Linked DNA regions of Homo sapiens: region 1 is linked to region 2. Evidence: promoter capture Hi-C in 16 types of primary human blood cells and fetal thymus (Javierre and others, 2016). All regions are on one chromosome and are shown on one strand. Each heading gives the region's core, a stretch centred on a gene start or on the middle of the fragment in contact. The rest is flanking DNA. Distances are from core to core; before and after follow the strand shown.

Evidence for each region. Contacts are between HindIII fragments. The CHiCAGO score rates a contact against its expected background, and 5 or more counts as called.
Region 1: a contact is called between a fragment that was not itself captured here and the fragment with the promoter of PROK1 in region 2, in 1 of 17 cell types (neutrophils). The highest score is 7.2, in neutrophils.

What each region holds. Positions count from the first base shown.
Region 1 is chr1:110,230,743-110,233,442 of GRCh38, forward strand. It overlaps KCNC4 (potassium voltage-gated channel subfamily C member 4), which reads left to right. Exons shown (of 4, transcript NM_001039574.3): 4 at 2,169-2,700. The coding sequence ends at 2,230. Among named protein-coding and RNA genes, the nearest start is that of KCNC4, 22 kb to the left of the region's middle. The HindIII fragment of the contact is 6,522 bases long and covers 1-2,700 here.
Region 2 is chr1:110,449,824-110,452,523 of GRCh38, forward strand. PROK1 (prokineticin 1) reads left to right here and starts at 1,326. Exons shown (of 3, transcript NM_032414.3): 1 at 1,326-1,465. The coding sequence starts at 1,394. The HindIII fragment of the contact is 11,265 bases long and covers 1-1,905 here.

The sequences.
Region 1 (2,700 bases), core at 126-2,625, 220 kb before region 2:
CCCAGATAGCAGGAGGGCTGAGTAGACTGTCTGCCCTTACAACCTCTCAGCACCTCTGGGCCTGCCCAGGGCCCTGGGAAAGGGCAGGGTGAGCCCAGGCATTTGCAGAACCCCTGCATACCAGGCACTGCCACAGGAAGTGGCTGCCTGTACAGGCGTCAGGCTCACCCAGGCCTTGAGCCTCCCTCCTTGAGAGAAGGCTCTCTCCCACCCACCATCTGAGAGTAGAGTTTGTTTTCCTTGGGCTAGACTTGGACCTGCACCCACTACTTTGTTGTCAGATGCCTTTCCCCTGCAGCTGGAGCTCAGCCCCTTCCCACAGAACTGGGAGGCAGTCTGGGTAGGAGTTCACAACCTCGCCTTCCAGTCTGTAGCAGGGTTACTGGCAACCTAGAGACCAATTTTCAGGGCTTCTGAGAGGTAGAACCAGAAGGAAGGGCACTGCAACCTAGAAGCTGGCTGACAGGAGCCAGAGGGGAGGCCATGGACTGGCTGCAGGGCCCAGGCTGCCCTTTCACAGAGCTTCCTGGGAGAGGAGGGCCTGCTCTGCTCTGGCCAGCGTCACCCTCTGAAATCCCTGCCCCACCCCTGGTGGGTCAAATAGGTAAGAATCCAGGATGAGATTCCTAGGAAGACCCCTCCCCAACTCTCAGAGGTCCCTGAGGATGGAGAGTCCATGGAAGCCAGTGGAAAAGCAATCTAAGGCCATTATCTCAGTATGGGCTGCTCTGCTCCCTGGCTTCTGGGACACTTGACAGCCTTGCTGTGACTCCTTCTGTCTCATCCTAGACCCATCCTAGACCCCTCAGTAGCCCAGGCATTCTCACCGGTGCATCTTAGGGCCTAATTGCCTACTGGGAGCCCAGAGGCACTTCCCTGTCCCCTAATGAGTGGGGATCAGTGGCAGGTGTTGCTTAAGTTACGCAGACAGGAGTACAGGGCAAGACCACAGCTCTGTCTGCGTGTCCTCAGAAATGGGGCTCTGAAGAACCCTGAATTCCTCTGATTTCAAGGATAGTACTCAGAGGCCCAGAACACTTGTAGGCAAAGGGGCAGTGTTTAAGGAGGTGGCTGGGGCATACAGTCTTAAGAAGATGGAAACAGCATCACCCCAAGATGAGGACACCCCTTCCCTAGAAAGGTGATGGAGGCACCCCGAAGCCCAGGATGGAAGCTGTGAGGTCTGGATGCCACATCTGCACTCCACCTTGACAGGAGGCCTAGCCCTAGACCTCAGACCCGAGAGCTGCAGGGGTTGTCCCAGCGGGTCTGGAACTCCCACCTCCACTGTTGACCCAGATCTGCAGCTGGGACAGCAGTACTCCTACCTGCCCTACCTGTGCTCCCACTGGTAAGGTAGGGGAAGGAAAGGCCCAGGTGGTAGACATCCCAGGCTGAGGGTGGGATCCCAAAAGGGCTCTCTGAGGGGTTGGGTTTCTCAATAAGGTACTATTTCCTGACCTTCTCTCCTGAGACAGGCACATTCGTCCTCCGTGACCTTCCCCTTCAGCATTCACCTGAGGCTGCATGCCCTCCAACTGCTGGGACTCTGTTCCTGCCACATTGAGGAAGGGGGCTGGGCACGACATGGCATCATACTCAGGAGCCTTCTTCACCAGCTCCTTGGGACAATGGAATATCCCAGGGTGGTGACAGCAGATGGAGCTACTTGGGGGAGAGCTCAAGTTGGTCAGGCAACAGCTGGGGTGATGGCCTGTGAGCCACAGGCCACATCAGGAACTTTCCCCACTGCCTCCATGCAAGGCTGCAGAGCTATGGTCCCTTTCTCCACTGCACTGGAGCTTTGAAGACCTAAGAGGCTAGTGGTTCCTGGAGCTAGTGGTTACCTGAACAGGTATGGCGATGAGCTACAACATCACCTGAGTCACCAGAGTTGGGTTGGCAGAGGGGTGAAGGGTTCACCCCATTCCCTGACCCATCCATGCTCTTCCTGGCCTTTTAGCCCTGGGTTCCTCATGCCTTCCAGCTCTGCTCCTGGTCTACTCCTTAGCCCACACCCTGTGGGTCAGCAGCTGGCTTCCTTCTAACGTCTCATTCTTTGTTTCTCCCTTTCTTTTGCTGAACTCCCTGTCCCCCCAACCCCAGAAGGCAATGTTGAGCCGAAAGCGTGCGTCCCAGTGTCTCACACCTGTGCTCTTTAAACACAGAGACCTGCCAAGACGCCCTCTCGTCCAACTATGCCCAGGCTGAAGTCCTCACCCTCTCTTAAAGCGGCACCAACGTGAGAGAGACAGGCAGACAGACAGAAAGCCAGAGGCTTAGGGAAACTCTGGAACCCAGACAAGAATCTTTTCGCTGGGAAAGACTCAGATATCCTTGTTTGCACAGGACTGGTGGAAAATCTCCCATGCGACCCTCGGGGCCCAGAGCCATCTGGGTCTGATGTTCTGTTCCATTGTACATCGAAGAGATATATATGCACATATAGTATCTATATTCATACATATTATACTCTTGTGTGTAGTGCACGTGCTATTGGTGGTTTGTCTTCTTTGTTAGGCTGTGTCTCCCTAAGCCCTTGCCCCACCCAGAGTTTCCCGTCCCCTTCACTGATTTCTGTTGTTTCTGCTGACTGTGTGGGTGGAATGTCCCAAGAAAAGTGCATCTGGGAATTGCCAGTCCAGCTGGGTAGTCCCAGGCTCCTGTCTTGGGGATGTTTCCCCTGTCAGCAAGTAACCT
Region 2 (2,700 bases), core at 76-2,575:
AATCAAAGCATCTGCCTCTGGGGGCTTAGCTCCCAGCTCCCGTGCTAGTTAACCTTCCTCTCTGCACTCATAAATGCCTATCAGCGTTTCAATGTGGAAACCCTAGACCCCTGTGACATTTGATAAGAAAGGTTTTGTGGATGAATCTGCTTGTGAAATACTACAAACTGCATTTCCCACTTGGTGTTTCAAACACTTATTAGCATATGAAAGGCCCTGAAAAGTTCTGCAAAAAACAAGCCGGTTTGTGTTTCCCAAATTTTTGACTGTAGAAGTCTTTTATTTGTTTATTTGTGTATTAACATATTGCAACACATACCTTGGGAAATGTTGGCTTTTATTACTGTGGAGAGAAGGCAGATCATCTGACAAAGCACTGGGAGCTCTCTCTGGGTCGTATGACACAGAGAGGGCTGGGGTCAGGGGCTTCCCTCACAGGCGGAGGGGCCATCCCGAAAGTCAACTTCCCACCAGACTGGCATCTGAGACCACCGTGTTTATACACTCACGGATAAGGCCACTCTCATGCTCACCCCTAAAACTGGAAGGCCAGTGGTGTGGCTCTGGTACCTTTCAGCCACAGCCCATACCAGCTCGGCTCTGCAGGGTACTGAGAGAGTGTGTGCCCTGTATGTTTGCTGGCTTTCTGCCCTTGGGTCATTGTACCAAGGGACACTTGCTGGTGTTCATCCTGAGCCCATGAGAGAGCAAATCCTTATGTGTGTGTCACTTAGGAACATCAGCCCCACAAGTCTGGTCTTTTTTTCCTCACTGTCTTATGGCTCCTCACTATAATTTTAACCTTTTAGAGAAATAAGGATACCACCTCACCCTCTTCTGTCTTCTCAGCTACCTCTGTGTTGAGCCCATGGTAAATGCCTAGATAAGTCTTGGTGTGAGTGAGAGGGAACCAATAATCTTGTATGTTGCATAGTTTGGTGCAGGGAAGCATAAATGGTGATGTTGCAAATCCCTTAATTCATTACCAGAGGCTTTCCTCTGCCCCAAGTAGGATAGAAGGATACCCAGAGGCAGAAAAGAACATTGAGTGAAATATACATAACTGTCTGAATCACTGCGTTCTTGGGAGAGTTAGAGCAACCGTCAAAGCCCCCCAAGTATCCATTTTTATTGGTTTTGATGTTGATTTGATGTTGTTAGAGATTCAGGTCTCATCTTCGCTTCTGAGATCATCTGAGTAACATCGGTGTTGGAGAAGGGAAGAGCAGAGATGAGGCATCCACAGGCAGCCCTGGATCCTGAGTGTAAACATCTGGGAGGAGGCGGGGGATGCAGGAGAGCCTGGCCTCCCCAGCTTGCCAGGCACAAGGCTGAGCGGGAGGAAGCGAGAGGCATCTAAGCAGGCAGTGTTTTGCCTTCACCCCAAGTGACCATGAGAGGTGCCACGCGAGTCTCAATCATGCTCCTCCTAGTAACTGTGTCTGACTGTGCTGTGATCACAGGGGTAAGTCGCCTAACATTCTCTGTGCCTTGGGTTTTGGGAAGATGTCAGGGTCTGCACGGGTTGTGAGCCCAGGAACCATGCAGGAGGCTCTGTTGGCTCAACACAGTGTGAACCAAAGGGAATGGGGAATTATGCATTAAAGGGATTGCATGCGATTTTCAGACTAGTTAGACCTCACTCTACTAAATGGGATCTGCTTTTGAGAAGCTGTGTATGAATCAAATCCTGTTTTCAATGTGTTAGCAGAGCATTGAACATTTTGAAGTTCAGTCCTTTGGTAAAGTGAAGATTCCTATTAAGTAATAAGGAATTCCTTTATAAAGTGGATTGGCAAACCTTAACTTATCTTTTGTGTGAATTTTAATTTTTATTTATGGTCTGATTCACATATTAATATTAATATTAATTTACATAGCATGTTGACTTAATTAAAGGCAGTAAGCTTAATTAAAGGTGGTAAGCTTATAAACTTCTATTGTATAAACTTAACCTCCGCTTAGAAAGGATATCTTTGAAACTCTTTCACTCTGTGCCTGCCTAGTTAGTTCTGAGAGGAATATGGGTGCCACTAACATTCAGCTGAGTGTACCCCAAAGCAAGCATCCAGATAACAAGTAGATATCCAGTCTCGAAGCAGAGAAGCAAAGGTTCAGCATATGGGCACTGTACAATTGGTTCAAAATATTCAGATCATGGTTTTCTCTCGGAAGTTTGCTTTTACCTCAAACCACCTTCAAATAGGGGCACATGATGTGTTATGGTAGCAGGACCATTCTTACTGAAGCAGAAAGCAATGCTGTACCTGAGAGCTTTCCATATAAAATCCACTGGAAGAAAAAGGTCGGGGAAGCAGGGAAACTAACTTTTAGTTCAGCCTCCACCAGCTTTTTACATGGATAGTGGAAATGTAGAGAAATGCCAAACAATTCCTGGAATTGGGTTAATTTTACCATTCACAGAAAGGACAAATTCTTTCTTTTCTCTTTTAAAGGAAAAACACTGAGTTCAAAAGAACAAATATTAAAGGCGAGTCAAATGCTTTTGAGATCCAAAGCAAAAATAAAAATAATTGTGAAGGCAGAATTATACCTAATGAAGTGTTTACACTGTAGGCTGCCCTTCTATGGGGTAGCTTGAAAATCTGGGAGGGCAAGAACAATGGAGAGAAGCCCCGGCTGCTGCGCGGTGAGGGCAGGAGCAGCGTGGTTGGCCTGGATGCCAGGCTTGCCTCACCA